Regions from separate parts of the Homo sapiens genome. Here region 1 is linked to region 2. Evidence: promoter capture Hi-C in human tissues and cell types (Jung and others, 2019). All regions are on one chromosome and are shown on one strand. The core of a region is centred on a gene start or on the middle of the fragment in contact, and the rest is flanking DNA. Distances in the headings are between cores, read along the strand shown. Region 1 overlaps PRKCB (protein kinase C beta). Region 2 holds the start of LCMT1 (leucine carboxyl methyltransferase 1).

What was found. Contacts are between HindIII fragments. The study calls those that stand out against the background at their distance.
Region 1: a contact is called between a fragment that was not itself captured here and the fragment with the promoter of LCMT1 in region 2, in 1 of the 25 tissues and cell types used here (H1 embryonic stem cells).

What each region holds. Positions count from the first base shown.
Region 1 is chr16:24,014,540-24,020,528 of GRCh38, forward strand. The region is part of intron 3 of PRKCB (protein kinase C beta); the gene reads left to right. Among named protein-coding and RNA genes, the nearest start is that of PRKCB, 180 kb to the left of the region's middle. RefSeq lists enhancers at 1-31, 142-211. The HindIII fragment of the contact is 4,710 bases long and covers 1,070-5,779 here.
Region 2 is chr16:25,110,292-25,115,914 of GRCh38, forward strand. It overlaps LCMT1 (leucine carboxyl methyltransferase 1), which reads left to right and starts at 1,451. Exons shown (of 11, transcript NM_016309.3): 1 at 1,451-1,705. The coding sequence starts at 1,593. LCMT1-AS1 (LCMT1 antisense RNA 1) reads right to left here and starts at 1,264. Exons shown (of 3, transcript NR_120306.1): 1 at 1,105-1,264. RefSeq lists enhancers at 874-1,401, 1,179-1,508, 1,599-1,758. The HindIII fragment of the contact is 11,844 bases long and covers 1-5,623 here.

The DNA of each region.
Region 1 (5,989 bases), core at 2,175-4,674, 1.1 Mb before region 2:
CCAAGATCACAGATGTCATTTTTATTCTAAGCTAACATTTGTCATATGGATACTACATGCCAGTCACTGTGCCAAGCTAAGCATCATCATTGTGATTTCATTAATCTGTACACATCTAGAAAGCAGGCTCATTATATTCAGCAAACACTTGCATAGTGTATATATGATGTGCCAGGCACTGTGCTGAGTCTTTTACAAATATTAATCCATTAAATTCTCATAATCCTATGAGGATTTAGTGTGATTATTATTTCCTTTTATTTATTTATTTAAGACAGAGTCTTGCTCTTGTCACCCAGGCTGGAGTGCAATGGCATGATCTCGGCTCACTGCAACCTCCACCTCCTGGGTTCGAGCAATTCTCCTGCCTCAACTTCCTCCCAAGTAGCTGGGACTACAGGCACCCGCCACCATGCCCAGCTAGCTAATTTTTGTATTTTTAGAAGAGATGGGGTTTTACCATGTTGGCCAGGCTGGTCTCGAACTCCTGGCCTCAAGTGATCCGCCCGCCTTGGCCTCCCAAAATGCTGGGATTACAGGTGTGAACTGCCGCGCCTGGCCTTATTTCCATTTTAAAGATGAGGACCCTGAAGCTCAGAGAGGTTGGGTAACCTGTCCAAAGTCACACAGCTGGGAGGTCATTGAGTTGGGAGTCAATCTCAGACAGTCTGGCCTTGAAGTGTCTGCTCCAGCACTGTCATTTCTCTCCATGTGACAGCTCTTCTCTCCATTTTACAGGTGAGAAAATCAAGGCTTATATAACTCAAGTAGCTTGCTCGAGGCTGCACGACTGGAAATTACCAGAGCTGGTGTTGAATTTGCACATTCCAGCTATAGAATCTGACCCCTGATCTCATGCTAAACTCCCTCTCAGTGGGGCTAGGGTCTTTTGGCTGAGGGGTCCAAGCTGGGAACAGGTCACGGGGGTTGAGGCAGAGCCTGAAGCCAGCAGGTGGAGGTGGGGTGGTGTCAGCCAGGTCTACCTGGGTTGACTCTGAACCTCATGCAGTGGAGCAGTTACTCCCTTCCCATGGGGCAGAGCCCCAGCTAGGTGGCCATCGCCTGGTTACACCCTCTAATTCCTTAAGATTTCAGCTTAAACTTCATTTTCTCAGGGAAGCCCTCCTGACTCTATCCAGCCGACACTCTCCTTGTAAATTCTCTAAGCACTGAGTGTCTCCTTTGCAGCTGTTGGAAGTGTACATTGGTTTATGCTTCTTTATTGTTTTCCCCAACTAGACTGACATAGGGAAGGTACTCAACGAATATTTGGTGACTAAATGGTTAAATAAGTGAATGGCTTATAGCTGTAGTAGAAGGAATTGGCACAGGAAATCAAGACTGAAGTCCAAGAAGTGGAAATATATATAAGGTTTATTGGGAAAAGTCACAACTCAGTAGGCACAGGGATGCCCTGAGCAGTGATAATTAATAATTAATAGTTAATAATAATAGCTTGTACTTATTGAGTGCCTGCTCTGTGTCAGGCAGCTGTTTTAAAGGTTGTGGGTAATTCATTCCCTAGAACCTCACAAAACAAATATTGTTATCCCCTAGGGATAACTACCGCTAGGGTTATTATCCTAGCTCCCCCTAGGGTTGTTGTTCCTAGACAGTTAAGGTTAACTAGGGATAACATCAAGAGAGCTGGCCCAAGGTCACCATTTCTTCCCAGCTTTTAACCAACGTTTTGAGAATACAGTATTCCCCATCAAAATCGTGGCTCACCACGGCTGTGAGTTTCACCCAGCGGCCTGGGTGGTCATGGTGAAAGCTAGAAATACATCTCTGGAAGACATTTTCAGGTATGCTACAGAGGCTGGCATACCCGGGCTAAGAGCTGCTGGCCTGGCTAATGAACTAAGATCACTCGTTGAAACAACAGGTATAAATCTCCAAGCAGAAAAGACTCGCTTAACATGGATGGCAAATGTTGTCTACCAAGAAGACCCAAGAAAATAATCAAATACCCTTTGCCAAGAATGTCTGGTTATAAAATAAAGATATAAATGACAATAACTTTTCTGTATTTTAGCAACAACCAGTTAAAATAAATTTGAAAAAATCCCAGTTAAAATAGCAATAAAGAGGTAAAATACCTAGGAATAAATACTTAGGCCCCAACTAAGAGAGTTTATGGGGGAAAAAATCTTTTCTGGAAAAACACAAGAAGGCTCAAATTACATGTGAATTCCACCCCTAGCTCCCCCAATCTGTTTTTCTCCTGGCAGCCGTGGTTCTATATCACATCCCACCTCACCCCTTAGCTCAGCCACAGCACCCAGCTCTGCACAATTCCTTATTCTAAATTCTGATTGGCCCAGTTCTTCCTTCATAAATTTCATATCACTGACCCAACCTTGGTCTATTCAGCATTGGCTGGAAGTATGAGGTCAGATGCTTTACTGTCCACTGAGCTGGTGCTGTAGGTTGGAATTTTTCTAGAAGGGTCAATAAGTTAAGCAGCCAATGATTGGCATTTCCAGCACAATCTGGGAGAATACATGGATAAGAATAACCAAGAAAAATTTGAAAGTAAGCAGGAATGCTAGGGGAGGGGCCAGTGGGTATAAAGGTGTGTGCCTCTAGATACCAAGAGCTTATACTATGGTATGGTGCAACGGTGGGGAGAGAGAGACAGATCAGTGGAGCATAAGACAATATTAAAAAATGAGCCGAGAATACATAAGAAATTCGTGTATCATAAAAGAGGCATTTCAAATCAGCAGGGAAAAGATGCATTTCATACATTTGCTGTCTAAACATTAAGAGTAGAAATAAAGGTCTTTCTTGAGAGCTCATGCTAAAATGAATGCCAAGGGAAATGATGATTTCAATGTAAAAAAGTGAAACCATAAAAGACTACCAGAAAATATCAGGAAGGACTTTCTAAATACGACAGCAGAGACAGAAACCATACAGGAAAAGGGAAAAATTTGCACTTTATTAAACACGCAGGCACACACACACACACACACAGACACGCACATGCGTTATACGTTGAAAAAAGAACATCGACAAAATTAAAAGGCAAATGAGAAACTGGGAAAACATTTACTGCATATATCATAGGTGAAGGGTTAATATCCTTAAATAATACACAGGAAAATTTGTTACAAATAATTTGAAAGAAACAAACTTGAATTTTAAAACAGGCAAAATTAATGATAACAGTGAACATTTCTTCTTTTTTTGTTTGTTTGTTTTGGAAGCAGGATCTTGCTCTGTCACCCAGGCTAGAGTGCAGTGGTGTGATCCTGGTTCGCTGTAGCCTTGAACTCCCGGCCTCAAGTGATCCTCCCACTTCATCCCCACAAGTAGCTGGGACTATAGGCATGCGCCACCATAACTAATTTTTTTTTTTTTTTTTTTTTTTTTAGACAGAGTCTCGCTCTGTGGCCCAGGCTGGAGTGCAGCGGTGCAATCTCAGCTCACTGCAAGCTCCACCTCCTGGGTTCATGCCATACTCCTGCCTCAGCCTCCCGAGTAGCTGGGACTACAGGTGCCCGCCACCACGCCCAGCTAATTTTTTGTATTTTTTAGTAGAGACGGGGTTTCACCATGTTGGCCAGGATGGTCTCGATCTCCTGACCTCGTGATCCGCCCACCTCGGCCTCCCAAAGTGCTGGGATTACAGGTGTGAGCCACTGCGCCCGGCCCATAACTGGCTAATTTTTAAATGTTTTGTAGAGATAGAGACAAGATATTACTATGTTGTCCAGGCTGGTCTCAAACTCCTGGGCTCAAGCAGTCCTCCCACCATGGCCTCCCAAAGTGCTGGGAATACAGGCGTGAGCCACCGGACCTGGCAGAACATTTCTTAAATGTTCATCTTCACCAGCAACTTTATGCAGTTTCCATGCAGTATCTCACTGAACTCTTACTAACCTAGGAATTAAGCATTATTATTATTCCAGTTTCCACACAAGGAAACGAAAACTTAAAAGGGTTAAATAACTTTCCCTAGAGTCAGAAAGTTAATAACTGGAAGAGCCAAGAGTTAAGCTTAGATGTGGCTACTAATTCACCCCTATATTGACATGGACTGCAGTGCAGATCTTAACCCAGGAAATGGTATTTTAAATTCTGCCAAAGTTTATACAATAGAAGCTTATCCTTCAAATGGAATAATTACGTATTCGCCAAATGGGCGGGGTTAGAAGAGGGCAGGGTATATCAGGCGGTTGAAGCAAATCGTCACCCAACACACAAGTGTTTACATGGTGTTATTGGCTCTATTCATTCTCCTCTCCAGGAACAAAATGAAAGATCGTCACCAAATTATAGTGTCCCCTTTTCAAATGTGCCATGCGTGTGTAATTACAGCTTCTAACATTCTCCACTTTTCATGCTCAGACAATCTCCGTCCACTCAGTCTCAATTAAGGTTTCCCTACTTTTTTTGTCTTTTGCAAATTTTTGGCCTTTTGTTTGCAGTTGTGGGCATGGCAGTACTGATGTGTTACTCACGGTGGTAGTACAAGAGGTGAGATTTTTGTAATACCCAGATAAACCCTAAAATATTCTACTTTACATCAAAAGTATAGAAAAGTCTGTGCTGAGAAGTTTTACTCTCTGTCTACTTTATTCTCTCTTGCCTCCATAGATGAACACTTGTATTAGGTTTTTTTTTTCTTTTTTTTTTTTTGGTGTATCCTGCCAGAGGTGTAATTAAGAGTCGACTTTCCCCGGTTACTCAGGAGGCTCAGGCAGGAGGATCACTTGAGCCCAGAAGTTTGAGGCTCCAGTGAACTATGATCTCGCCACTGTGCTCCAGCCTGGGCAACATAGTGAGACCTTGTCTCTGAAAATAATTTTAAAAAGAAAGGATACACACTTAACTTATTGCACCTCGCTTTCTCACACACACAAAAGGTACCATGTAATATACACACCTCAGCACCTTGATTTTTTTGTTTGTTTCACTTAAAAAATACAACCTTGGTCGGGTGCAGTGGCTCACGCCTGTAATCCTAGCATTCTGGGAGGCCGAAGCAGGCGGACCACTTGAGCTTGAGCTCAGGCGACCAGCCTGACTAATATGGCGAAACCCTGTCTCTGCAAAAAATATAAAAAGTAGCTAGGCATGGTAGCGTGCACCAGTAGTCCCAGACACTTCGGGGGCTGAGGCAGGAGGATTGTTTGAACCTGGGAGGTTGAGGCTGCAGTGAGCCGAGATTGCACTGCTGCACTCCAGCCTGGGTGACAAAGTGAGGCCTTGCCTAAAAAAAAAAAAGAAAAAAAAATGAGATTTTTTTCCATATTAATGCAGAGAACTTCCTCATTGTACTTTATACCTGAGTAGTCTTCCATTATGTGGCTACACTATGATTTATTTAAACAACCCTTTCCCAGTGACACTTAGCGTGTTTAAATCTTATGCTACCCTAAACAGGGCTTCAGTGAATAACTGTATCTGTATATTACTTCCTATGTATGCAGGTTATTTTACCTTCGTCCAACGTGATGGAGTGAAAGGTGAAAAGAATTTGTAATTTTACAAAAGCATTTGTACTTTGGATAGGTAGTGCCAAATTGCCCCCACAGGATGACACCAATTGGCCCACCCACCAGGAATATGTGTCTCTGTTTCTCCACAGCTTTTCAACAGAAACTGTCGGGATGAACATTTAAAATTTTCATTTTAAAATTTTAAATTGTCTACTTCATTTTAAGGTGCATTAGAAAAGGCAGTTTGCATATTGATCCCATGAGTTCACACTCTTAGTTTCATTTTTAAAAATAGGTTTATTTAAATAAAAATGGCAGTACTGAATTGAAGAAAAATATCAAGTAAATATTATGTTGGTGCAAAAGTAATTGCGGTTTTTGCCATTACTTTCAATGGTAAAATCCACAATGACTTTTGCACCTACCTAATACTGTTACAGGTTGAATGCAGGCATGCGAAGTTATGACAGCTCATGACTGAAGCTGGGGAAATGTTGCCATGATGATTTTTTCTCTTGGGAATAATAAAATCAAGAGGT
Region 2 (5,623 bases), core at 201-2,700:
ATACAAAGACATTTTTAATTTATAATGTATATTAAACATTATTATACATATACAACTTACAAGGGTTGCTTCTGGCTGGATTCTCTGCCAATCGCCCGAACACTGAGGATTCTGCTAGTTGTTCTGCCCTGAGTTAATTATAGCTATAAAATTTCATCACCAGCAAGAAACCAGGCGACTTCCCCAGTACATCTTGAATTTATACATATATTTTGTACTAGATTTAGTACAAAATAAATCCAAAACATCTTGAATATGCCTCATAATGAAACAGACACACGTGAACCCACTCCCACGTGAGAAACTGAGGATGTGTCTATGTGCTCCTTCCCTGCCTCTCCCTCCCCCTCTTGTGTGCTACCCTCCCGGCTCCCTAAAGATCACCAATATCCTGATTCTTTTTTATTTTTTTTTCTCATGTCTTGCCTTCTCTGTACAGTATTTTACCATATATGTACGTTTCTCTAAACAACATTAGTTTTACTTGGTTTGAACTTTACAAAAGTGTTGTTAGACTTCCTTCTTTCACTGAACATCGTGTTTCTGAGATTCAGCCATTGATGCTGCTACCTGGTAGCTCTAGTTCATTTATGATCGCTGCTACATGGCTTCCTATTGTATTACTTTTCCACACACTACTTCCCTCACTACATTTCTTTTCTTTCTTTCTTTTATTTATTTGTTTATTTATTTTTTTGAGACGGAGTCTCGCTCTGTCGCTCAGGACGGAATGCAGTGGCGCCACATGGGCTTACTGCAACCTCCGCCTCCCGGGTTCAAGCGATTCTCCTGCCTCAGCCTCCTGAGTAGCCAGGACTAAGGCGGCCGCCACCACGCCCGGCTAATTTTTGTACTTTTAGTAACAACGGTGTTTCACCATGTTGGCCAGGCTGGTCTCGAACTCCTGACCTCAGGTGATCGGCCCGCCTCGGCTTCCCACAGTGGTGGGATTACAGGAGTGAGCCACTACGCCCGCCCCCCTCACTACATTTCGAAGGCAATTTTGGGGGCAAAGCCCTCAGCACAGTCGCTGGCAGAGTCAGCACACAACAAAATTTTGTAAAATTGAATGACACTGAGCCCGGACTGAATGTAACAACTTACACATGTTGCTTCTGGCTGGATTCTCTGCCCTTTGCCCGAACGCTGAGGATTCTGCTAGCTGTTCCGCCCTGAGTTAATTATAGCTATAAAATTTCGCGACCAGCAAGCAGAAACCGGGCGACTTCTCCAGACACCTAAGACTACGCTTCCCAGAAAGGATTGCGATACTCTCCTACTGTTTAGTTTCTTTTTCCTATCGTCAAATTTCCGGGTTATGTGGGCGGTGCCAAAATAATTATCCAATGAGCAACTTCGTAGGCTGAGCGGGCAGGAGAATTGCTCAATGAGCGACTCGGAAGAGGAGCCAATAAGCGGAGAGGTTGCTGGGGTAGCCGGCGTGGGCGGCGTCACTGAGCCGCGCCAGCTGAGCCAGGTAGGGCCCTACCCTCTTCTGTTGCTTTCTCCCTGTGGCTCGCGCCGTCCCCCGCCGCCCGTCGACCCCGCTTCCATGTCCCTGGCGGACACAGCTCCCAGGAACCTCCACGCCCATGGCCACTAGGCAGAGGGAATCCTCTATCACCTCCTGCTGTTCCACCTCGAGCTGCGACGCAGACGACGAGGGCGTGCGCGGCACCTGCGAAGATGCTTCCCTGTGCAAGAGGTGCCTGTCGGGCGCGGGGTTCGGGGCCGGCATCTGGGGCGCGGGCCTAGGTGGGAGGTGGGCCTGCATCTGAAGAATACGCTCAAGGCTGGCAGGGATGCAGCCCCCGCCTCGCACGACCCTCGCTTCCCACCTGTGAAGTGCACGGAGCAGGGCTTCATTTATTTAACGAATCGTTTCTGAGCTTTTGCTGTGAGCCAGGCAGGGGGCCAGCCTGGGTATCGTCGATGGGAGCAGGCCCCTGAGCCAGACAGACGAGGCCTTGGGCTTCTTGGAGCTAAACGCTGCTGGAAAGACAGACATGAAGCAAATAGTAGCTCCAGCCTCGATGGGTTACGAGGATGAGAGGTGTAGGTTCTCTCTCTTTTGTAGGTTGCATTCTTTAGGGGGTTGGTGTGATCCCTGTTGTGCACCTGAAACTCAGGATGACGAGGGGAAATAACCCACCCAGAGCCAAGTAATATCTCTTTGCAGAGCCAGTACCGCACTAAGTCTCCACTGTTAAGGGTGTGGTGGTGGGGATGGGGGCGTAGCCAGCAGAGGTACGTGTCAGAGAAAGAGAAAGCTTGAGGCTTGAATGTCCACCATTTATTCTTTCATTCAACAAAATTTTTTGAGACCTTACTTTGTGCCAGGCCTTTACTTTGCAGTGGTTAGTAGGAATTCGATGGTGGAAATACACCAAGAACAAGACAGACATGGTGTCAGACATACTGGAACTCACAGCTTTGTTGGAAAAGAGAGACAGGAAGCAAATAATTACCTATGAAATATATAATTATGATTTTTTTGTGTTGAGTGCTGACAAATACGGCAGTGCCATTAGAGTTTGTAATTTTGTCAGTGATGTTTAAGGTGAGAAGAGTTTGGGCGCGGTGGTTCACGCCTGTAATCCCAGCACTTTGGGAGGCCGAGGTGGGCAGATCACGAGGTCAGGAGTTCGAGACCATCCTGGCCAACATGGTGAAACCCCATCTCTACTAAAAATACAAATATTAGCTGGGTGTGGTGGCGGGCGCCTGTAATCCCAGCTACTCGGGAGGCTGAGGCCGGAGAATCATTTGAACCCGGGAGGCAGAGGTTGCAGTGAGCCAAGATCACGCTATTGCACTCCAACCTGGATGAGAGTGCGAGACTATGTCTCAAAAAAAAAAAAAAAAAAAAGTGAGAAGAAAAGGCTTGAAAAATAGGAAAGTTGTAGGAGAGTGTTCAGAGGAGTGTGAACTGTTAGAGGAACTCAAAAAATGCTTTAAAGGTGGGAGAAGGAGGCTGAGGCCACGTAGTGATTGTAGAGTGGGGAAAACCAGTGTGTTGGATTAAACCTTGCACTTTTTATAGGTTCTTGGGGACTAAACTTTCAGAGCATGGATTCTGGAGCTAGACTCTGTCAAACTGAGCGTTGCCACTTACTGGCAGTATAAAGTCGGGGAAATTACTAAACTTTTCTGTGGCTCAGTTTCCTGATCTGTAAAATGGGGAGTATAATAACGCATCATAGGTGGGTGTGGACAAAAATGATATTTAATATTAGTAGAGCACTTGGAGCAGTGTCTGGCATGTAGTCCATGTAAGTGGTGATTGATTAAATTAATAAATACACAAGTATTAAAGTCTTAGAGAGAGTCCCTTATGAAATTTGTGAATTTGAGTGGATTATACTCAGCTTTTTCTTCTGTGGCTTTCAGTTGCTATTGGCCACAGCTGTCTTGGCTCCTGGTAACTTCCACCTGCCGGGTTCAAGTGATTCTCCTGCCTCAACCTTCCAAGTAGCTGGGATCACAGGCACACACCACCATGCCCAGCTAATTTTTGCATTTTTAGTGGAGACAGGGCTTCACCACGTTGGCCAGGCTAGTTTCGAACTCCTGAACTCAAGTGATCCGCTCGCCTTGGTCTCCCAAAGTGCTGGGATTACAGGCATGAGCCACCCCACCCAGCCTAGTCTTTTCATTTTTAAAACAGTGATAATAAAGGTAACCTTTATGGGTGTCAGGATTAAATGAGATTATCGATGCAGAGGATCTGACACAAAGTGAAGCCCTCAGTAAATTATTATTGCTAGTTTTGACTTCCCTCCAGGCTGAATATTGTTTAGTTAAAGTTGCTGAATGTGCAGTAGCTATGAGTTAGGGTGGTTCCTGCTGCCCTGAGTGAGTTATGGCTATAAAATAAAAAGCCAGTCAGCCTTCTGGGTACCTGTAAATCTTTTACTTCTGTTTAGTTTGCTTCTTCCTTTGGTATAGAGTCCTTCTGCGGATAAGTAGGATGTTATCTGTCTCAGAGGATTGCTGTGCAGGTGAAATGTGGAGTGCTTGCAGCAGTGCTTGGCATACTGGAGGTGTTCAGAATTGGTAGTTAACAGTCATCACCACCCCCCTCATTGTCATCAAATCATTATCATCATTGTGATCCTGGACTTGTGGTATCAGAAGTTTTCTGGTTGGATATATTAGGTTTACACTAACTCCATTTGACTCAATAGGTATCAATTGAGCACTTTTCATGGTAGCCCACTCTCCTTCCCTTCTCTGCTCTCCTTATGATGTCCATCATGCTATGCCACTGAGTCTGTTCTCCCCTCTTTTGTTTACCTGTGACCCAACCATCCCACCAACCCCTCACTATGTCCTCTGCAGTTACCACCTGATAATCAACATCAGCTTCTATTTTGTTAGCCTCTCCTTAGCCATTCCCTCCCTCCCTTTGCCTTCACCCTGACCTTTCCTCAGGGATATCCTGTTCTTGAAGCCCTCTCCCGTGGCTCCTCCTCCTTCTCATGCCCTGTGTATCTCAGGATCAGGGATTTGAGCTTTGTGTCCTCCTGTGTGTCTCCCGCGTCTCATTCCATGGAGAGCCTTCCTGCCCAACTGGAGCCCTCCTGATTGCTGTTGTTCAGCTCTCCTGATCATTCACCTCATTCATGGAAGACTGGGGTGCCTGGCCCAGAGTGTCCTCTACCTCAGTTCATGACTTCACCTTAGGTGACCTCAGCATCCACATGGAGCCTATGCACGAGGCACTCACTTTCTTGAACACCTGGTCTGCAGTGATCACCTCTTCCTATCTGATTCTGTCACCCATTCCCACCGTGACACCCTGTGCTTTTATCCTGATGCTGCACTGCCTCACAGATGAGAGTGCAACACTCTCCAGCTCTGACCCCTTTTTTCCAAGTTGCTTGACCAGTTATTTTCTATTTCCCATGCTGTGCCCATTTCTTCTTAGCACCTCAGTGGTTCTCTCTGTCTTTTAGATGTTCCCTCTGCTGTTACCTCTTAATTGATTACTTAGAGTTCATCCTTCATCCCTCGGTAATTCTGTTGACAGTGCATTTATCTTCCTTGCCCTTTGGTCTTAGTAGACCCAAAATGCTGGTTTAACCAAACTATCCATTTTTGCCTTGAATACAGGTGCTAGAAATCACACAGTAGGGTGGCTTGGTGCCGCTACGATCATGTCAGCCAACCTCAACTGTGCCCTTAACAGAACCTGACTATCCTAGTTTGTTTCTCAGATCAACTCACTCTCCCTTTCTCCGGATACTTAATTCAGACATTTTCCCCTTTCTTCAGACTTCTGATTTACCCCACTCCTTTTTCATTCTCAAGATAATATCAGCTATTGCTCAACATGGAAAATGGGAACCCTTAGAATGAAACTCCCTTAACCTCCCCCAGAAACTTTGTTTGTTTTGTTTTGAGAGGGAGTTTGGCTGTTGTTGCCCAGGCTGGAGTGCAGTGGCGCGATGTTGGTTCACTGCAACCTCTCCCTCCCGGGTTCAAGCAATTCTCCCACTTCAGCCTCCCGAGTAGCTGGGACTACAGGTGCCTGCCACCACACCCGGCTAATTTTTGTATTTTTAGTAGAGAAGGGGTTTCACCATGTTGGTCAGGCTGGTCTCGAATGCCTGACCTCAGG